Regions from separate parts of the Homo sapiens genome. Here region 2 is linked to region 1. Evidence: promoter capture Hi-C in 16 types of primary human blood cells and fetal thymus (Javierre and others, 2016). All regions are on one chromosome and are shown on one strand. Each heading gives the region's core, a stretch centred on a gene start or on the middle of the fragment in contact. The rest is flanking DNA. Distances are from core to core; before and after follow the strand shown. Region 1 holds the start of ZNF418 (zinc finger protein 418). Region 2 holds the start of ZNF543 (zinc finger protein 543).

Region 1 (6,148 bases), core at 2,988-5,487:
CCTGGGTCCATTAGACGTACTCCCTCTCTAAATACACATCCTTCTTTTTTTTCTGAGATGGAGTTTCGCTCTTGTTGCCCAGACAAGAGTGCGGTGGCGGGATCTCAGCTCACTGCAACCTCCACCTCCCAGGTTCAAGCAATTTTCCTGCCTCAGCCTCCCAAGTAACTGGGATTACAGGCACCCACCACCACACCTGGCTAATTTTTGTATTTTTAGTAGAAATGGGGTTTCACCATGTTGGCTAGGCTGGTCTCAAACTCCTGATCTCAGGTGATCCACCCACCTCGGCCTCCCATAGTGCTGGGATTATAGGCATAAGCCACCACGCCCGGCCTTACACATCATTCTTTAGATAGCACAGGCACATGTCACGGCCAGCCCAACATGACATCCCCCAACCATCAGCTTCTTTTGAGCCTTAACACAAATTACAGTTTTGGTTTCTTTTAGTCAGGTTCTCCTTTGGTCGCCTAAGCTGGAGGGGAGTAGTGTGATCATGGCTCATGGAAAGTTCAAACCCCTTAGCCCCAGGCCTCAGCCTTCTGTGGAGATGGGATCTTACGTATGTGCAACATCAACCACTTTCTTTTAAGAGATGGGGTGTTGCTAAGTTGCCCAGGCTGATCTCAAACTCCTGGCCTCAAGCAATCCTCCCACCTCAGCCTCCCAAAGTGCTGGGATTACAGCATGAGCCTTCAAGCCTGGCCAACAAAGTATTTTAATCCCCTTCTTTTCCTTCTACTGCTCTGAGTGGGATTCTCCCCTTAGGGTTATAGTGTTGGGGAAACAATTGACACCTGAGACTGTACATATGCCATCCACAGCAATTTCAAAATCAAATAACTCACAGCCTGGCAGAGAGGGCCACATGGGGGTTGCACTGTGGACAACAAATGGAAACCAGGGACAGTGTTATGCACACTTTGTAGGATGAAGAGGGTGTGATAGCCCCTGATTTCTCAGGAGGGTGCCACTGACTTGCTTAAATAATTCTGAGTAGAAATGGAATTGAAACCCAGTACAAAGTATAATAACCAGAAACTGTGCCTGATCCCTTAATGAAAAGGGTTGTTAGGCCAGGATACATTATCCAATAGAACAGAGTGGGAAGGGGATTTGTGCTCAGGCCATTTGAGGTCATACAGTATCACCACACACCAACGTTGCACATCACATTGGCCTTTCATTTTCGGCCTTATGCCACAATGTGGCTGACAGAATTCAGAGTATGCTTGGCAAATTCAAACAGGATCCAATATTACCACAGAATTCTCATGGCTCCCAATAGCAATGCAGTCCCAAGTCATTCTATGAAGGCCTTCTTGCATGGCTCCACATCCCCACAGAACCAGGTGGGGCTTTAGATATCCATGGCCCTATTCCACTTCTGTGTTGCACTTGGTGACCCCTCTACAATGACGACTTTCCTCTGTCCACCTAGAGTCATTTAAATCCCACTCCCTTGTTATGGAGAATGGTCTAAGAAAAGTGGAAAACAAAAGAAAAAAATAAATAAAATCCCAGCCCATCAGCTGTCCACCCCAGGCCCAATGTCTGTCACAGATAACCAAATTTACCCTGAGCATGTATCCACCAGGCCGAATGAAAACCCCCAAGCACCAACAAAGTTTTCTCAAAATCTTGGTGAGTCCACAGAGTGGTGAATAAGTACCAGCCTTGGCCCAAGTGTCATCTTCCTTCAATTATTTCTATGCTTCTGCTTACATCTCTTATCTATTCTACCCTTGGAAAGCCTATGCCCCCTGACAAACCATGTTGTCTGACATACCCTATCTTCATGAGCCCTTGCCTCCTTCTCCTGTGGCAATGTCAGCCAGGGACCCAAGCAAGAAATTCAGCCCTCAGCCTGCAACCACCCCTTCCTGGCCCCCACAAAAGATTTACCATGAAAATTTGAAGTGTGTCAATGTCATAATGGAGGCTAAACTATCTCAGACTCTTAACATGGTCAAAACAACATTCTTCACATCCCCAATGAATATTATACCTACTATGTGCTCATCTCAGTTGATGCAGCTTCCATCACTGCAGATGCTAAGACCAAAAACCTGGTGGTCATACCTGATTCCCCTTTCATGCCCTCACAGTCTATTAGAAAATCTAGTTACCGACCGGGCTTGGTGGCTCACGCCTGTAATCCCAGCACTTTGGGAGGCCGAGACGGGTAGATCACGAGGTCAGGAGATCAAGACCATCTGGCTAACACGGTGAAACCCCATCTCTACTAAAAATATTAAAAATTAGCCGGGCATGGCCGGGCTTGGTGGCTCATGCCTGTAATCCCAGCACTTTGGGAGGCCGAGGCCGATGGATCACGAGGTCAGGAGATTGAGACTATCCTGGCTAACACAGTGAAACCGTCTCTACTAAAAAATCCAAAAAATTAGCTGAGCATGGTGACGGGCGCCTGTAGTCCCAGCTACTCGGGAGGTTGAGGCAGGAGAATGGCGTGAACCCGGGAGGCAGAGCTTGCAATGAGCCAAGATCGTGCCACTGCACTCCAGCCTGGGCGATAGAGCGAGACTCCCGCTCAAAAAAAAAAGGAAAATCTAGTTGCCATTTTACAAACTGTGAATCTTGAATCCAGCCACAGCTCCTTACTCATTAATATGGTCCAGTAACCCTCACCTGCATTATGGCAGGAGTTTAAACTCTGATCCTCCTTCCTCCTCCCTCAAACACAGTGTGTTCTCTTCTTTGCAGCCAGATGATGCCTGCAGACAAATGGGACTGTGGTAACATCACCTCCTCGCCGCCCTCTTGCCTCCCCACCGAATTTTTACCTCTAAGCATTTCATGACCTGGTACCAACTCTGTAGTTAACCTTCAAAGTATGTTTACATGGGTTGACAGAAATGGGAATACCTCCATACATCCTGTGTCATGGACTTAGGATTCTGGGTTTAGGGTTTCTCCAGTGTTCTCAGATCAAAGGACTGAAAAAATGGCAAGTAAGAGTCCCAGGACATCACAAGCTAGAGAACATGTGAATGGGGAATAAGGCCAGTGAGGGAATGGAACACCCTCTAATTCCCTCTGTGGGTTCCTTTTTTTGAGCCAGAGTTTCGCTCTTGTTGCCCAGGCCGGAGTGCAATGGCTCACCGCAACCTCTGCCTCCCGAGTTCAAGCAATTCTCCTGCCTTAGCCTCTGAGTAGCTGGGATTACAGTCATGCGGCATCACCACGCCTGGCTAATTTTGTATTTTTGTTAGAGACGGGGTTTCTCCATGTTGGTCAGGCTGGTCTCGAACTCCCGACCTCAGGTGATCCGCCCGCCTCGGCCTCCCAAAGTGCTGGGATTACAGGTGGGAGCCACCTTGCCCGACCCCCTCAGTGGGTTCTTTACGTGCTTTTGTAGCCAGGAGTGTCTGAGGGGAAAGCAGACGTTACAAAGGGGATCTGATAAGCTCAGGTCTCCTTGAACCTTTTCTTATCGCTGGAGCCAGGTGACCTCAGACTGGTTGACCTGCGTGTCTCAGTGCAAAATGTCATCTCTACCACCTATGTGATCTATCAACAAAGGAGTCAACCTCCCAGAACCCTAAGGTCCTCATCTCCTCTACTATGTTCTTCCTTTGGCCTTTGGGAAACCTTAAAAGCCTGGACTTGGATCGCATCCCTCCTTTCTTCGAAACTCTCCATGGCTTCTAGCGTCTTCACAGCGAATACACAGCCCCCAGCCTGCTCTTCCAGGAGAAGCTTCGCCTCACACGTTGTTCCCTACAGGCGCCTGTGGACCCCAGGTTCCATCCTCCCGGGTCTGTCCTCCAGGCCATAGCCCGCGCCGGTCCCTGTGCCTGTCGCTCTCCCCACCGCATCCCACAGGTGTCAGAAACAAGGACCTCTCCCGCGAACGCCTCAGTGTCCCGACGCCGGGTCCGGGCTGCAGACCTGTGAACAGTCGCCGCTCTCTCGCTGCTTCAGGATTCGGGTTAGGATGAGGTGACCTGAGGGCAGGGAAGGCACAATTACCTGAGCCGGGAGCCTCAGCGCGGCCGCCGCCATCCCGAGTACGCGGGGAAAGCACTGCCGGGAGCGGCGGGCGCCGTTACGGGGCCTAAGATCTGCCTCTGTGCAGCAAGAAGGACTCTTCACCTTCTGGGTTCAGACACCGCGGTTCGGACCCATAGCTCCAGCGCCTCTCACCTCACAAACCGCAGAAACACACCCAACATTAACCAAAATGGTCGCTACCAGAGAACGCTGAGAATCCCGCCACTACGTTACGTGCGCACACAGAAACGCCTTTATTCTGAGCCCTTACTGGTTCTGTTGCGCTGTCATTCAATGTAGAGCTTTCTGGGTAATGTAGTTCCCCAGGTTCCAAGGTAGTAAAGCTGCCGCTTCCCAAAGGCGCTTCTGCAGGGAAGTCCCAGCCCTACCTCAGGGGGTTCATTAAAGCGCGTACCCTTTTAGGGCAGAGGATGGTCTCGCCCCTCCTTAGAGGCCATATTGAGATTCCTGGGGAATCCCTGTTTGTAACTGACCACCTAAGTGTTTGCAAAAATATTAATTCACATTTCTGTAAATTCAAGCTCCCAGGCGCTAAAAATACTGTGAAGGCCCCCAAAGGCTACAAATCCAAATTCGTGTATCACTTTATACAATCGTTTAGACACAGAATGCTTGCACTGGAAGCAGAGGCTGATAAACATTACTCTGTTATAATTCACATGAATGCACTCTTGTTACCGGATAGAATGTCTTGGCTGTGAGTTGTCCAGTTGTTGGCGCATTGAACAAAGAAGTGAACAAAACACACAAAAAAAGCAACGAAAGAACGGACCAATGAAAGCGCAGATTTATTGAGGGGAAAGTACACTCCACAGAAGTGGAATGTAGGTGTGGGAGCAGGCGACCAAGCGGCTCAAGAACCCCGATTACAATGTTTTTTAGGGTTTTATTAGGTTGGTGCAAAAGTAATTGCGGTTTTTGCCATGAATAAGCTAGAATTTTATAATACCCCAAGAGTTCTTTAAAGGCCTCCAATCCTATGAAGGACTGGTGCACAACCAATCAGAGGCTGAAGTGGAGACTTCTGTCTTGTTACCACAGGAGTGAGGACGTGGCCTGTGTGCTGCCTCATCTTGCCTAGAACTAGCTGCACCTGCTGTTCTTTTGCTTATGCCTTCATTCTTGGTTACCCTAATTCCCTATTCTCCTGCCTCACTCTGAGGCATTAGAGTTGGTTTTTCAGTCTGCCAGGGACAAAAGAGAACTAATCCAGATAGGACCATGCCAAGGAAGATAGAGGAGAGGCTAAAGAAAGAGTACAAAGGTCAATCAGTCGTTCCCATGGAAAAACAACTCTCCTGCTTATATAGTCAATTATTGTGTCCAATTCATTCAGCAAAACATTTATTCATGTAATATCCCTTACTTGGTATTCTAACTTATATTTTCAACTCATTTTAGGAACTTGAAGTCAGTCTCAGGTAAAGAACAATGAAAGAGAAATCTCAGCTTGGTATTGGTAATGGTGGTGATAATCTCCACCTGGAGACACTAGGCGTATGTTAAATTATCGAGCTTGTTATCTTTCCTGGGAAGTGATTATCATTTGTTTCTCTTGTGACAGCGGGGAGTGTTCTGCATGAGGAACTAATATGATACCAGAAAAACAGGTGAAATGCCAGTTACAGAAACTTATTACCAACGACTATCTAATAACTGCGATGACAGAAATAGGTCAATTGAAACATGAGTGGATGGTGAAAAAAATTTACACTTCACAGAAGTTTTTCTTTCTTTTTTTTTTTTTTTTTTTTTGAGACAAAGTCTCGTTCTGTCCCAGACTGGAGTGCAGTGGCGCCATCTTGGCTCACTGCAACCTCCACCTCCCGGGTTCAAGCGATTCTCCTGCCTCAGTCTCCCAAGTAGCTGGGATAACAGATGCCTGCCACCACGCCCAGCTAATTTTTGTATTTTTAGTAGAGACAAGGTTTCACCATGTTGGCCAGACTGGTCTCAAACTCTTGACCTCTGACCTGCCTGCCTCCTTCTCCCACAATGCTGACATTACAGGCATAAGTCACTGCTCCCAGCTGACTTTACAGGTGTTTGTTTGTTTGTTTGTTTGTTTTGAGAAGGAGTTTCACTCTTGTTGTCCAGGCTGGAGTACAAT
Region 2 (7,089 bases), core at 4,418-6,917, 610 kb before region 1:
CAGTTAACTAGTATTTTGTTGAGAATTTTGCATTTATGTTTATCAGGGATATTGGCCTAACATTTTCTTTTTTCATTTTGCCTCTGCCAGGTTTTGGTATCAGGATGACTCTGGCCTCACAGAATAAGTTAGGGAGTAGTCCCGCCTCCTTGATTTTTTGGGAATAATTTCAGTAGGATTAGTACCACGTCTTTTTACATCTGGTAGAATACAACTGTGAATCCACCTGGTCCAGGGCTTTTTCTGGTTGGTAGCTTTTTAATTACTGATTCAATTTCAGAACTCATTACTGGTCTGTTCAGGATTTCAATTTCTTCCTGGTTCAATCTTAGGAGGTTGTATGTTTCAAGGAATGTATCCATTTCTTCTAGGTTTTTTAGTTTGTGTGCTAAGTTTTTAGTTCTTAATAGTCTCTGAGAGAATTTTGTACTTCTGTGGGGTAGGTGGTAATGTCACCTTTAACATTTCTGATTGCGTTTTTTTGCATCTTCTTTTTTCCTTATTAATCTAGCTAGTGGGCTACCAGTGTTGTTTATTCTTTTGAAAAACCAACTTACGGTTTTATGATCTTTGTGTAGATTTTCACATCTCAGTTTTATTCAGTTCAACTCTGATATTGGTTATTTTTCTCTGCTGCTTTTCTTTCTTTTGGGGTTGTTTTTTTTTTCTTTTAGTTCCTCTAGGTGTGATGTTATTTTGTTAACTTGAGATTTATCTAACTTCTTGGTGTAGGCATTTTGCACTATAAACTTTCAACACTGCTTTAGCTGTGTCCCAAAGATTCTGGTATGTTGTATCTCTGTTTTAATTAGTTTCAAGGAATTTTTTTATTTGTCTTGATTTCATTCTTTACCTAAAACACATTCAGGAGAAGATTGTTTAATTTCCATGTAATTGTATGGTTTTGAGAGTTCTTCTAGGTATTGATTTCTGTTTCTACTGTGCTATGGTCTGAGAGTGTGGTTGGTATGACTTTTTTTTTAATTGTTGAGTATTGCTTTATGGCCAAGTATGTGATTGATCTTAGAATATGTGACATGTGCAGATGAAAAGAATGTATGTTCTGTGGTTGTTGGGTAGAGTATTCTGTAGATTTCTGTAAGGTCTATTTGGTCAAATGTCCAGTTTAGCTTCCAAATACCTTTGTTAGCTTTCTGCCTTGGTGATGCATCTAACACTGTCAGTGGGGTGTTGAAGTCTCCTGCTATTATTGTCTGGTTGTCTAAGTCTTGTTGTAGGTCTCTAAGAACTTGTTTCATGAATATGGGTGCTCCAGTGTTTGGTGCATATATATTTGGGATAGTTAAGTCTTGTTGAATTGAATCCTTTATCACTATGTGATGCCCTTCTTTGCCTTTTTTGATCATTGTTGGTCTAAAGTCTGTTTCGTGTGAAATAGCAATCCCTGCTCTTTTTTTTCCCATTTGCTTGATCTTTCTCCATCCTTTTACTTTGTGCCTATGGGTGTCATTGCATGTGAGATGTGTCTAATGAAGAGAATACACAGTTGGGTTTCATTTCTTTTTCCAACTTGCCACCTTGTGCCTTCTAAGTGGGGCATTTAGCCTATTTACATTCAAGGTCAATATTGATAAGTGAGGATTTGATCCTGTCATTATGTTGTTAGCTGGTTGTTATGTGGACTTTATTGTATAGTTGGTTTGTAGTATCAACAGGATATGTGCTCAAGTTGTTTCTGTGGTGGCAGATACTCATCTTTTGCTTCTAGGTTTAGCACTGTTTTAAGGACTTCTTGTAAGGCAGGTCTGGTAGTAATGAATTCCCTTAACATTTGTTTGTCTGAAAAAGATTTTATTTATCCTTCACTTAATGAAGTTTAGTTTGGTTGGATATTAAATTCTTGGTTCAAATTTCTTTCATTTAAAAATGCTGAATATAGGCCCCCAGTCTCTTCCAGCTTGTAAACTTTCTGAAAGGTCCACGGTTAGCCTGATCGGGTTCCTTTTGTGGGTAACCTGCCACTTCTCTCTAGCTGCCTTTAATGTTTTTCTTTTGTATTGACCTTGGAGAATCTGATGACTATGTGTCTTAGGGATGGTCATCTTGTATAATATCATCTCACAGGGGTTCTCTGAATGTCCTGAATTTGCATGTCAACCTCTCTAGTGTGGTTGGGGAAATGTTCATGGACAGTATCATCAAATATGTTTTCCAAGTTCCTTGTTGTCTCTCCATCTCTTTCTGGAATGCCAATGTGTTATAGGCTTGGTCTTTTTACATATCCCATATTTCTTGTAGGTTTTATTCATTTTTTAAAATTCTTTTTTCTTTATTTTTTTCTGCTGTATTGGTTCAAAGGAGTCGTGTTTGAGCTCTGAGATTATTTTCTTTTTTTTTGTGGGATAGCAAACACTTATTTGAAGAACTTTTAGGATAAAATTTAGTTTACCTCTGATAAAGCTGAAGAAAAATGATTGCAGTTTTTATGCATTAAATGATAAACATTGCCTTTGTATTCTTTTCCCAGTTCTTCTACAATTTTTTCTATATCATCTTCTAGGAAGTCCGTGCTCCCTAAAACAACTTCTTTAAATTTAAATGGTTCTCCTAGTTCAGAAGCATTTCCTGGGGAAATTTCAAATATTCCAGAAAAGGGGTAAGGATGGCCACCATAAGCAAATTCTCTGCCATAGACTTCAATTTCTGAATGAAAAACTCCAATTCCAATGGATGAGGTATATTCCTTCATCCAATACATGTCACACACGTTGAGCACCACTAACTGGTTAGCCCCCATCCTCCTCCCCGCGGCCGCCGCCTAGTCCTCAAGCCGCTCGGTCTCCGCGGGGCCGGAGGCCGCTCCCACCCCCGCGGGCGCTTCAAGGGGCCTGAGCCGGGCACTAAGCGTACAGCCCTGCCCGTGGCAGCCGGGGCAGAAGCATCGGGCAGCCAAGCCACTCCCGGGCGCCAACGACAGGAGCCTCTGTGCGGACAGGGCCGGACAGCTGGCGGCCCGCTCCGGATGAGGCACCTCCCCTAGGCGGCAGACACATGGGGAAAAACTGAGCTCTGAGACTATTTTCTAAGCTTGGTCTATTCTGTTGTTAGCGCTTCCAGTTACATTATGAAATTGCAATTGCTGTAGTTAATTTCTTATTTCCAGAAGTTCAGTTTGATGACTCTTTTTCTTTTCTTTCTTTTTTTTCTTTCTTTTTTTTTTTTTTTTTTTTTTTTTGAGACGGAGTCTTGCTCTGTTGCACAGGCTGGAGTGCAATGGCATGATCTTGGCTCACTGCAACCTCCATCTCCTGGATCCAAGGGACTCTTGTGCCTCAGCCTCCCGAGTAGCTGGGATTACAGGTGCCTGCCAGCACACCCAGCTAATTTCTGTATTTATAGTAGAGATAGGGTTTCACCATGTTGGTCAGGCTGGTTTCGAACTCCTGACCTCAAGTGATCCACCCGCATCAGCCTCCCAAAGTGCTGGGATTACAGACGTGAGCCACCGTGCCCAGCCCATTTTGGTTCTTTGTTAATATGGTAATATTATATTTAAACTCTTGGATTGCATTATTGGTTTCCTTGGATTTTTCCTTCCTTGCCATCCAGACTCTGAATTCTAAGTCATTTCAGCCATTTAAGCATGGTTCCAAACCATCACTAGGGAGCTAGTGCAGTCGTTTGGAGACCTTTAGAGTTGCCAGAAATCTTGCACTGGTTCTTTCTCATATGTGTGGGCTGATGTTCCTTGAATCTTTGAAGTTGCTCTCCTTTGGATGGGGCTTTCTGCTTTTATATTATTTGATGCCCTTGGGAGTTTTACTGTGGTATAAGTTGGGTTTAGTTTCATGGTTTCAATTATGGGTGCTTTCACAGGCCAAGGCTCAGCTGAGCACTCCTGAGCTGCATGCTGTAAACCTGGGTAGAGGGGATTAAGCCCTTGGCTTTGTTCTCTGGCTGCTTGGGGTGAAGCACCTGCTGTGCTAGAGGGGCTGAGGTGTTCTCAGTCTGCTGGCAAAAGTGCTCCAGCAGAGCATTGTGGGGACTGCAGAGAGTGCACTGTGGCTGGGGGATGGGGAGGCCACAGGCAAGTGTGCACCACTTGGGCAGTAGAGGGGGGCTACCTGCAAGTGTGTGCCAATGGGGTGGCATGGCTGTGGTGTAGGTGAGTGAAGCACCATGGTGTGAGGGGTCCCCGGCAATGCCTCCCACCTTTTTGAATCTCCAGTGTCTATTATTCCACTATTTCCATATGTATACATCATTTAGCTACCACTTATAAGTGATAACATGCAGTATTTGACTTTGTTTCTGAATTATTTCACTTAAGAGAATGGCCCCCCAGTTCCAGCCATATTGCTGCAAAAGCCATGATTTTTTTTAATGACTGAGTAGTATTCCATGGAGTGTATATATATATACACATATATACATATACATACATATATATACATATATATACATATACATACATATATACATATATACATATACATACATATATATACATATATATACATATACATACATATATATACATATATATACATATACATACATATATATACATATACATACATATATATACATATATATACATATACATACATATATACACATATATATACATATACATACATATATACATATATATACATATACATACATATATACATATATATACATATACATACATATATACATATACATACATATATATACATATATACATATACATACATATATATACATATATATATCGCATTTTCTTTATCCAATCATCTGTCGATGGACACTTAGGTTGATTCTATGACTTTGCTACTGTGAATAGTGCTACAGTAAGCATGTAAGTACAGGCATCTTTTTGATATAGTGGTTTATTTTCCTTTAAGTAAATACCCAATAGTGGAATTGCCAGATCAAATGGCAGTTCTATTTTCAGTTCTTTGATAAATCTCCATACTGTTTTCCATAGAGGTTGTACTAATTTACATTCCCACCAATAGCATATAAGCGTTCCCTTTTCCTTGCATCCATACCAACATCTGTTGGTTTTTTACTTTTTAATAATAGCCACTCTGACCAGTATAAGATGGCATCTCAGTGTGTTTATGTGTGTGTGTTTTCTCTCATCATATCTCATTATAACCTCAAATTCCTGGGCTCAAGCAATCCTCTTGCTTCAGCCTCCCAGTGTCTAGGACTACAGGTGTACACCATCATGCCTTGCTCTTTTTTTTTTTTTTGGTAGATATAACATCTTACTATATTGCCCAGGGTGGTCTCAAACTCCTGACCTCAGCAATTATTTTGTGTTGGCATCCCAAAGCACTGAGATTACATATATGAGCTACCTCCCTAAAATAAGGGAAGTGAGCCAGAAGCTCTGGGCCCAGCCCATGATCTCAATCGGGGCGAATATCCCCGCCTCCTGACCTCAATTTTCCTAAGCTAGAAAGGACCTTTCGACCCTCCGACTTGTGCCCATAGTAAAGCGGCGGCCCTAAGACGACGCGGGGGTCCTTGTGCGCACTTAAATGGAGTCGGCTGCGCTTGGTGAGTTCCCACACCCGGTAGATGTGAGGGAAAAACTGCCTTACTCAGAAGGCACCACCCCTTGCGTCGGCCGCGGACTCTAGGCCAATGACGGGCCAGGACACGGGCGATTTCTGCGGGCCAGGGCGGCGGAGGTGGGACTTCCGCTTCGTCGCGTGACGTCATCTCCGTGAGCAGGATTGGCCCTGGAACAGTGTGGGGCCTGGACCGCTGGGTAGGCGCGTCCAGCGGCCTGAGCAGGGGAGGGTAATGAGGCTGTTACGCGCCTTCTCCGCATCTTGGCGGGAGCCTGACGCCCCGCTTCTTCCCTAACGGGGTGTTCCACCGGCGCCTGCCGAGGCCTAGGCCTCCGCAGCCGCCCTCCGTCTCCTCAGCCCCGACGCTGCGCCCGCTTTGTGCGCATTTTTCTCTGGGGAAACTGAGGCTCCGAGTGCGAAAGTCAGCCGAGGTCGCCCCGCCCAGGACAGAGAAGGGCTGGGGGTCGGCTGAGCCGCGGCATTCCCGGGCCCCGCTAGGGCTGCAGGGTCTCAGGATGGCAGCCTCGGCGCAGGTGAGTGGACGAGGTTTTGGCCTTGCTGCTGCTCTGCTACTTCTGGAGGCCTCGTGGGCAGGCAGAAGCCAAGACAGCCACAGGATGTTTCTTTGTCGCCGTCGTTTATTTAAGAGAAGTGGCCGTAGCTTGTCATTTCCTTTATCCGCAGTCCTGCAATAGTGTTGGCCTCCGACAGGTGCTCAGTCCTTGGTAGAAGGATGAATGATGCTTCCTTCATGGATCTCATCACACTTCCCTTAAATCCAACCTCCTCTGTTGCCTGCCAGCCCCTACCCCATCCACCTGGCCAACCACCCCTGACCTTGTCTCTCCATTTTTCCCTTGTCCTTTGCTCTTCAGAGCCACCAACCTGACCGTGCAGTCTTCTTCCTTTTTCCAGGCTTTCTCTTTGCACTTCCCTTTGCCTTGAACACTGCCCCTATAACTTCGCAGGGCCTCCCTCTCATATCTTTCTGGCCTCTGTCCAGATGTCACCTATTTGGAGGTGGCTTTCTTGGCAATTCCGGCTAAAGTGGCGCCTTACGCACTTGCCCATTTTTGGCAATGTGTGGCATTTTTGTATAGAGAATCTGACGATATTAAAGAAGCTTGCCGTTTGAGTTGGTCTAGGATGTTATGTGAACAAAGAGAAACGAAATAATTGCAAAGAGTGACAGCTGATCATAAAGAGTCCTTGCTGTGGGCTGATTGGCAGGCATTATTTAACCCTCAGCTCCTTTAATCCTGAACTCCTTAGAATTAGGTTCTCTTGTCCTCACTGTTTTACACAAGAGCAGCTGGAGGCTCACATAGGTTCAATTACCTGCCTTACATCACTGTAGCTCTTAAGTATCAGAAACTAACAACTGGTGTGTCTACCATCACAGCCTGTGTTTTTACCCTCTTCTTTGCCCGCAATGGTTAGGGAGGCCTGGGGGTGACACCTAAAGTAAACTTTGCAAGTTGAGCAGGCTTCCTTCTAGCAGGTGGTCTTGGACATGAGGAGTCATGGCATTTCATGCTGGTGGAACTGTGTGGAC

What was found. Contacts are between HindIII fragments. The CHiCAGO score rates a contact against its expected background, and 5 or more counts as called.
Region 2: the fragment with the promoter of ZNF543 here is called in contact with the fragment with the promoter of ZNF418 in region 1 in 4 of 17 cell types (naive B cells, non-activated CD4 T cells, total CD4 T cells and 1 more); the score reaches 9.2 in naive B cells.

What each region holds. Positions count from the first base shown.
Region 1 is chr19:57,931,165-57,937,312 of GRCh38, forward strand. ZNF418 (zinc finger protein 418) reads right to left here and starts at 4,238. Exons shown (of 6, transcript NM_133460.3): 1 at 3,997-4,238; 2 at 2,653-2,738. The coding sequence starts at 2,658. RefSeq lists enhancers at 3,641-4,523, 4,116-4,205. The HindIII fragment of the contact is 3,111 bases long and covers 3,722-6,148 here.
Region 2 is chr19:57,314,805-57,321,893 of GRCh38, forward strand. It overlaps ZNF543 (zinc finger protein 543), which reads left to right and starts at 5,668. Exons shown (of 4, transcript NM_213598.4): 1 at 5,668-6,067. The coding sequence starts at 6,050. It also overlaps the pseudogene LOC100288211. RefSeq lists a silencer at 2,677-2,971 and enhancers at 4,044-4,561, 5,487-5,606, 5,617-5,766. The HindIII fragment of the contact is 3,609 bases long and covers 3,047-6,655 here.